Linked DNA regions of Homo sapiens: all the other regions are linked to region 1. Evidence: promoter capture Hi-C in 16 types of primary human blood cells and fetal thymus (Javierre and others, 2016). All regions are on one chromosome and are shown on one strand. The core of a region is centred on a gene start or on the middle of the fragment in contact, and the rest is flanking DNA. Distances in the headings are between cores, read along the strand shown.

Region 1 (2,700 bases), core at 125-2,624:
TGCAGTGATATGCGATCTTGGCTCACTACATCCTCCATCTCCTGGGTTCAAGAGATTCTCCTACCTCAGCCTCCCGAGTAGAGTAGCTGGGATTACAGGCACCCACGACCAAGCCCAACTAATTTTTTTATTTTTAGTAGAGATGGGGTTTCACGATGTTGACCAGGGTGGTCTTGAACTCCTGACTTCAAGTGATCTGCCCACCTCAGCCTCCCAGAGTGCTGGGATTGCAGGTGTGCACCACCGCTTCCCACCTGTTTTTTTCTAATAGGCTTCCTTATTCATTTCTCACAATGGCTTTTCCAAACCTTCTCCTCAAGGATCCAAACCCATCCTTGCTTCCTCAAAGATCCAAAACCACCCTTCCTATTTACGAAGGTGGTCTCCTGTCTTAGGTGACAAGAAAATGTACCTTCTTGCCCTCGTATCTACATGCTCACCTATACCCTCACCCGACTTTTCCCTCCTCCTCACCCCATCAAAGGCAATAATGCACCTGTTTTTATTCATCTGGGCCTTTGGTCTTCCCCTTCATATTTCCCGAGACCTCGCTTTCTTCTTTCTCTTGTATTTTTTATTTTTCTATCTCTTATGTGTCCTTCTCTAAAAGTTATAAACATGCACAAAATCTTTCCATCTCAAAATATAATACCCTTTACCTGGTGTCCCCTGCAGGCCATCTTCTTTATTTATTTACTTTTGCGCCAGCGTCTTCCTCTGAAGCCCAGGCTGGGTGCGTAGCGCGATCATGGCTCACTGCAGCCTCGGACTCCCGGGCTCAAGCGATCCTCCTGCTTGGAGGATCAGATTTTTTATCCTTGCAGAAGTGATAATATGGCTTCTTCCTCATCTCCTAAACACCAGTCATCTGACATACACTGCAGATCTAAAATGGGCCTACGTGTTCTGCCCTTCCTTGCCTACCTGTTGAGCTTGCACCGCTTCTGTGAGTCTCCCCCCACCCACAAGAGATCCTTCTTCCTTCGCGCTCCACTAACCCGACATAAATGTTTATCATATAAAGTTTTCCGTTGCACTCTTGTGTTTATGTCTCCTGGCTTCTTCACCAAGCTGTGTGACAGCTGGGCCCTGTCGCCTCCTTCCTCGTATATGCAGCGACTATCGCAGAGCCGCTTAATCTTTGTTGAAGGCAGCTGCGGTTCAGCCCTGAGGGCCACGGGACGGACGCCACTCATTCAGCCCTACCGGGGGCGCTGTGGCAGCCGGCATTGGTTGCCGTGCCCTCCGCTTGTCTCGCTCAGCTCTCGAGCCACACGCCCTGGGCTCCGCCCACTCCCTGACAACATCCCTCCTGCCCATTGGGCGAGCATGGACGGGGCTGTCCAATGGAGCGAGGCGTTGGTGCGAGGAGGCGCCGCCATCTTGGGGCTGCTGGGACTCGCGTCGGTTGGCGACTCCCGGACGTAGGTAGTTTGTTGGGCCGGGTTCTGAGGCCTTGCTTCTCTTTACTTTTCCACTCTAGGCCACGATGCCGCAGTACCAGACCTGGGAGGAGTTCAGCCGCGCTGCCGAGAAGCTTTACCTCGCTGACCCTATGAAGGTAAATCGCTGGCGGGGCCGCTGCTTTGGGCCCCAGCCCAGGATGTCTTCCCGCCATCCACTCGGCCCCTGGAGCTTCCCCAGCGCTCCCAGGAGGTGCTGGGAATGAACACAAATGGACCCTGCCAAGTTAATGTTCTGCTCTCTCGTCCCCTTCTTCCCTGATCTAGCGGCCCAGTGAGGCCCTGAAGCTGGCAACAGCCAGGTTCATCTCAGCCCTAAACATTTCTGCAATCGATCTTCCCGCCCCAGTCCCTCAGCTTCCTTTATGGCTTCGGTTGTTTTACGAGTCCCTGAAGCCAGGGCTCCTCCCCCTGCAGCTTCCTGTCCTTTGTCTTGGTTCACTTTTCCTGTACCGCCTAGGCGGTAAGGGTACCTCATGTATATAAAACTGATGATGTTTTTTCTACTACCGCTCAGACATTCTTGAAAGATTCCAATTTGGAAGCATCTGTACCCCCCAGAATATTGGTTCTTAGTATTTTGGGAGTCACAGGCTTTGGGACCATAAGAATAATATTTGCACCTTTCCTCAGAAAAATGGTATAAGTAAATGTATAAGTAAATGTTTGCAAACAATTTTAAGGGATTCATGGACCTCTGAAATACATTCTTAGCCCCCACAAAAATTATAATGGAGGTGGATGTCAGAGGTTAGCTCATTATTAAAAAGCAAAGGAGTCCAAGTGATGGGAGTTTAGCATTCGGGTCTTACTTTTCGTCTCTTGAGGTTTTGGTTATTTTATTGTCATGTCTAAGAATTATTTGAAGCATCTTCGTGTTAATTAAAAGTTCTGCTTCTTTTTAGAACTCAGCATATTGAAGGGATTTTATACTGAAAACCTCAGACCTGGTTATGTATGATGCTTCTTTTGTTTTGTGTTTGTTGTAACTCAGTTATCTCTTTTATGCTGCATTCATTTCCCACTCTCGTGTTACTGACCCCAAGTTAAATTAGGTTCTGTGGGAGACACAAAGGTGAATGAGATTCCGTTCAACCCTTAAGGAGCTGGTATTATTGGAGGGTATTATAGATCCAGTGTATTGTGACTGTATCCCTCGGAGAAGAAAGAAAATTAAAAGCAGATAAAATCTCGGAAAACCGGGGCTCAGGATCTTTTTTTTTTTTTTTCAATAGTT
Region 2 (2,700 bases), core at 56-2,555, 290 kb after region 1:
TACTGCTTTAATTAAATAAATTGGATCAAAGGCCGTTCGAGGTATTTTTGTTTTGCCGTTTGTCGCTCAGAATTGGCATTTTGAGAGGTGATTGATACTGCTAACAATTTTCTAGTACTCTAGTTTGTTTCAAGAAGAGATTTTGGGTAGACGTAATCTTCACCCTTTCAAATTATATAACAATACGAACATTATTTTTTATACTGATCATAATTTCCAGATTTGGGGAGGGGGTGATCGTGGCAGGAAAAGTTGTATGTTTGGTAGTTGCATATGGTGATTTTTGATTTTTCAATGCTGGTAGGTAAGTAAGGAGGTCTCTGTACCATGGCTCGTACAAAGCAGACTGCCCGCAAATCGACCGGTGGTAAAGCACCCAGGAAGCAACTGGCTACAAAAGCCGCTCGCAAGAGTGCGCCCTCTACTGGAGGGGTGAAGAAACCTCATCGTTACAGGTATTAAAAAACAGGAAAAAAATGGGACAAAGTCTCTCTTGTATGTATCCACATAATTTAACAAAAAGATGGATAACAGGAAAACTTTTTGCTTTAGAGAAACTTTTTTTTTTCATTTGAACACTTAACTACTGCTTAAATAAATGTACTGTATGATCATTTATATATAAAGTTAAGTATTAGGTTTTATTGAAAACGTTTAACTTTGAAGCCATAATCTTACCTGGAGGTCTAAGGAGACCTCGTATATCACTGATAATGTTAATGGGATATATTGACATTTTAGTTAACTATTAGTAATTCTTTAAAAATAGTTAAGTGTTGCTTTCTTGAATACACTTTTGAGGTTATCTTTCCTAGTTTTTGGCAAAATAATAATATAATCGAGATTGGGTGTTTTATAAAGTTCCTACCCCCTCATTTACTTGATTAGCTTATTTCCTTCTGTATTAGCTCTTTTGATTGTGAACTACCTGAGCCACTGTGTTGTTAAGGGCATCTGCCATTAGAGGGCAGAAGTTGCCTAGACTTAGCCTCCGCAAATATTACGATTAACCTAAAATAAAAGCTCATACAGTGGAAGAAATAAGTCAGAATGAGAGGTAAATTTCTTGCTGACAATTACTTAGTAAAAAAAACTTTTCCACGTGGAAGGAACACTGCACAATCGGGTGTATTCAAATTTAATAGTTGATGAGGGGTGAACTGTAGTCAGGGTAGAGGTATTCTGGGAAATAGAACTTGAATGCCACAAGCAGATTTTTAAATGAAGTTCATTGGGTTGTGTTGGTCATCTTTAAGGGCTCTTAAGATAATAGAGGGTGTAGGGAAGGAGAGTGGTGCTAAATTGAGGGGAGCCAACTTCTTCATTAGCCTGACAGCTAATACCTTCCCAAGGTTTATATACATGAATAACTTTTTAAAATGAAAATAAATAGGGCTTTGATGAATTTCTTGCTAAGAATGCATTTTAATTTCATGCTTTTTGCTTTAAAGGTATTGTTACTAGATTTGAATGTTCACATCTTAAGTTGATCAGTGAAATTTGATACTGAAGCTGAAGAATTGTTGGGTGGCTTATTTTTTGAAAGATTACTGCATTTCTTTGAAGCTGCCCACTTACCTTTTTGTGCTAGTTATGTTTTTGGTAACAGTTTCTTTATTAATTTTTTAAAGGCCTGGTACTGTGGCGCTCCGTGAAATTAGACGTTATCAGAAGTCCACTGAACTTCTGATTCGCAAACTTCCCTTCCAGCGTCTGGTGCGAGAAATTGCTCAGGACTTTAAAACAGATCTGCGCTTCCAGAGCGCAGCTATCGGTGCTTTGCAGGTAAAATGGTGGGTGGGAAGACTCAGAGTTTGTATTCCTGTTGTGTACCAAGAACAGTTCCAAATTGTTGCATGTGCTTATATCATTTAATCACAAGCCTGTCAGGTAGTTGATATTGTTACTTCACTGTTGAGACTTCAGAAAGGTTAAATTGCTCAAGGTCATACACGTAGAAAATGGCAAAACCATAATTTGAACCTATTTGACTCCAAGGCTTAGTGCACATTCCATTATACCATTTAAAATTTTGAAACATTGCACTAAAAACAATATTTAAAGAAAATCCTCTGGTTTGGTTTATGGATGCTGCAGGACATTAAGAAGAACTTGAGACTAGAGGTCTATATTTGTAGTAACAATTTCAAACAACAGTGCCTAGAATAAAAGAAATGTCTCTTCAGGTCCTGAAGAAACATATAGGTAGAGAGAGCTTAATACCTAGGATGGGAATAGGCAGTATTAAAAAATTATGCATTAAGACGTAAAAGGAGCAGTGAGTGGAGGATAGGATTGGATTGGCAAGATTGGGGGAACGGTGCTTAAAGGTGATACTGGACGTGTAAAGGGGCCAGGATTTGCCTTGTGGTTTCCTAAAGGGGATTAGGGATTGCCACTTACATGTGGAGCATATTGAATTTAATCTTAATCTCTAGCATGTCAGGACTTAGAGAAATACTGTTCTAGAGATATTTATGTATTTGAGATATTTGTGGTTTAAGTTAAGACCAAAACTTGAAATTCCTACAAGATACTTGATAAAGGTATGTAGACGTCATTAACATCAGTCACTTAAGTAACCTATTTTATATTGTGTGGTTGGATTCTTTAGTTGCAAGTATCCCAGAATACAGTAAAGCTACCACCTCCATCAGAAGCATGCAGTTGGGGGTCGTTAAAAATGCTGATTGTTAGGCA
Region 3 (2,700 bases), core at 87-2,586, 410 kb after region 1:
CTCTGGGGAAAGTGTCATAAATATGCTGCTCTGGAATGTACGTGGAACCTAGCAACCACTTTTAAAGTTGCATTTGCTGATGTCCCTCCCTGTCCATTCGCCCTACAAGACTAAGTATCTTTAAGAATCAAACTAACGGGCTTTCATCAGTTTTTCCCACTGACAAAAATCATGTGATTGGTCTCTCCACCATTCGACTAAGTGAATCACCCAATTAAAAAAAAAAAAAACCGCACACTACAATCTTGCTCTAAGACAAGAGACATTTAACAATTAATTATGCGAAAAGCACAGAAGGTACTGTTAGGCCTTACTCTGAGAATTCACTCTTGCACATTGCTTACAATGTAAAATTTTAACCACCTAGAAGTTACTAGAACATAGTGGACATCTCTCCTCAAGAGTTTGACAAGCCGGAGAGGATGATGAGCTTAACACTTTACTTCCTCCTCTCTGCCACATCAATCTGCCGGGGGATCAAGTCCTGTTCCAGTTTATGGTTCCCAAGAATGGCTGGAAAAGCTATGTATGGAACCTCTTGACAGATTTCTTCCACTAAGGGTAAAAATCGGCGGGTTCTGATGTGACAAGCCATGGGAAATAGGAAAAGAAAAGCGTCAGTTAAAAAAATAATAATAATAAAAGGCAATCCCAGAATGGGATCCTTTGGAAGAAAGTGGGCTCATTCTTCCACCAGGGCTCCTGGAAATCCCAGAAGCTAAATCAGGTAAAATGTCCCGGTAACCTCTGGGAGGCGGGACATGACTGCTAAACCAAGGTTGCAGGCCCGTCAGGGGTGTGACCTAGTGGCCAAGCGGGTAGTGACAAACTTCGGGTACCCCCAAGGAGGGAACCCCGCTTGAGTCACCACAGCCCAGTATGAGTGGGTGAGGGCAAGTCTGGTCCAGTCACCCTGGGGACCACAGCCCACGCCGGGCTCCCGGGGCCGGGCAGAAGCGGCGGGGGTGGGGCTGGCCCGGCTCACCTTTGAAGAAGCGCAGTGCCAGGCCGTACAACTCCTCCAGGCCGAAACCCCAGCGCTGCTCCAGCCGCCGCGCCTCCTCCGCCGCGCCCCCAGCCGCCGCCTCCCCGGGCTCGGGCTGCTCCCCTGAGGCGCCCGGGCCGCGACCGGATCCAGGTGGCGAGGGCGGTGGCAGCGGTGGCGGCAGCAGCGGGGCGCCCTCCGCCCCAGGCCGCTCCTCCGGGTCCGGGCTGAGCGTGAGGCCGTCGACGGACACCTCGAGTCGCTCTGCGTTCAGCACCGCCGCCATCTCCGGCTGCTGCACCTCCTCAGCGGGGACAGACGGCAGCCACGTATCGACTTCCTGCTGACCTCTGACCTCCGCTTACCGACACCGGAACTTCCGCTGCTGAGGAGGCTGGAGGGCTCCGGGAGAGGGGCTGAGGCCTGGCGCCCCACCCCCTCCGGAATCGTCAGTTGCCCTGGCTCAGCGACCACCCTTCAGGCTCCCCAACTCCCGTTGGTCCCGAACTCCCCTCCCCCGCACCCCATCCTTTCGGATCCCAGTTGCTCCAGGTGGGCGGGTGCTACCACCCCCACCGCTCGGTTCGGTGCTGCGGCTGTCAGTGCCCAGCAGGGGCGGGGTCAGTGGAGCCCCGCGCGGGGGTCGGAGTAGGGAGGATTGACGAGGTCGGCCAGCACCCAACCCTCCAGGTCAGAGGCCCTTCACATTTGCAGGGGCCTGCGTGGTTGGCAGAGCTCTTTTGCCCACCACCATCTCGTTTGGCCTTCACAGCAACTCTAAGGAAATGCAGGGCAAATTCCCAATTTTTTTAAAAGGGGAAACTGAGACTGCAGAGAAATTCAGTGACTTTGAGGTTGCAGACGGGGCTGATCCTGGTTTTGCAGGAAGCGCAGCTCATACAATTTGTGGGGACCCTCATTAGGAAAGAGTACAAAAAGTTACGCGCAGAAGGGTAGGAAAGTGAATGTATATTTAGAAAGAGAAAGAAAAAACAAATGATATTTTAAAAGTTAATAAAACCCACAAACATCACACACATAACCGTAATATTTTCATTGACTGCCTGATATTCTTCTACAGGGCGTCTGAGAGCCCAGAAACCTATTTTTTTCTAAAAGATTGAAGTCGCCCCCGACATTATGTATATTCACCTGTGTTTCCAGACTTTGGGAGCACCATTTATGATCATTTTTCCCACCTTTGTTTTGGCTGCGTACTTCTGATTGCCTTTTCCTATAACAATTATTTTGTAACTTTTTTTTTTTTTTTTTTTTTTTGTTTTTTGCAGACAGTCCTGCTGTGCCACCCAGGCTGGAGTGTAGTGGTGCAATTCGGTTCACTGCAACCTCTGCCTCCCGGGTTCAAGCAACTCTCCTGCCTCAGCCTCCCAAGTAGTTGGGATTACAGGTGCTCACCACCACGCCCGGCTAATTTTTGTAAACTTAGTAGAGTCAGAGTTTCCCCATGTTGGCCAGGCTGGTCTCAAACTCCTGACCTCATGTGATCTGCCCGCCTCAGCCTCCCCAAAGTGCTGGGATTACAGGTGAGAGCCACCGCGCCCGGCGTATTTTGTAATTCTCTATAAAGAAAAGAGAAAGATCAGTCTTTTCTCCAGCATGGCTGATTAAATTTGTTTCTTAATAATTGTTTATAAATTTATTTCAGCATCACAACTCATTACTGATATTGTTAACGTACTTTTTTAGGGTTATTG

What was found. Contacts are between HindIII fragments. The CHiCAGO score rates a contact against its expected background, and 5 or more counts as called.
Region 2: a contact is called between a fragment that was not itself captured here and the fragment with the promoter of SRP9 in region 1, in 2 of 17 cell types (naive CD4 T cells and non-activated CD4 T cells). The highest score is 5.5, in naive CD4 T cells.
Region 3: the fragment with the promoter of ACBD3 here is called in contact with the fragment with the promoter of SRP9 in region 1 in 2 of 17 cell types (monocytes and fetal thymus); the score reaches 6.2 in monocytes.

What each region holds. Positions count from the first base shown.
Region 1 is chr1:225,776,452-225,779,151 of GRCh38, forward strand. It overlaps SRP9 (signal recognition particle 9), which reads left to right and starts at 1,375. Exons shown (of 3, transcript NM_003133.6): 1 at 1,375-1,561. The coding sequence starts at 1,490. RefSeq lists enhancers at 368-1,128, 875-1,094, 1,345-1,714. The HindIII fragment of the contact is 1,703 bases long and covers 1-1,535 here.
Region 2 is chr1:226,064,025-226,066,724 of GRCh38, forward strand. H3-3A (H3.3 histone A) reads left to right here. Exons shown (of 4, transcript NM_002107.7): 2 at 305-455; 3 at 1,632-1,785. The coding sequence starts at 328. Among named protein-coding and RNA genes, the nearest start is that of H3-3A, 2.7 kb to the left of the region's middle. RefSeq lists an enhancer at 294-363. The HindIII fragment of the contact is 4,122 bases long and covers 1-2,700 here.
Region 3 is chr1:226,185,405-226,188,104 of GRCh38, forward strand. ACBD3 (acyl-CoA binding domain containing 3) reads right to left here and starts at 1,337. Exons shown (of 8, transcript NM_022735.4): 1 at 986-1,337. The coding sequence starts at 1,271. It overlaps LOC101927247 (a long non-coding RNA gene), which reads left to right and starts at 2,492. Exons shown (of 2, transcript XR_001738504.2): 1 at 2,492-2,529. RefSeq lists silencers at 828-1,307, 944-1,238. The HindIII fragment of the contact is 12,408 bases long and covers 1-2,700 here.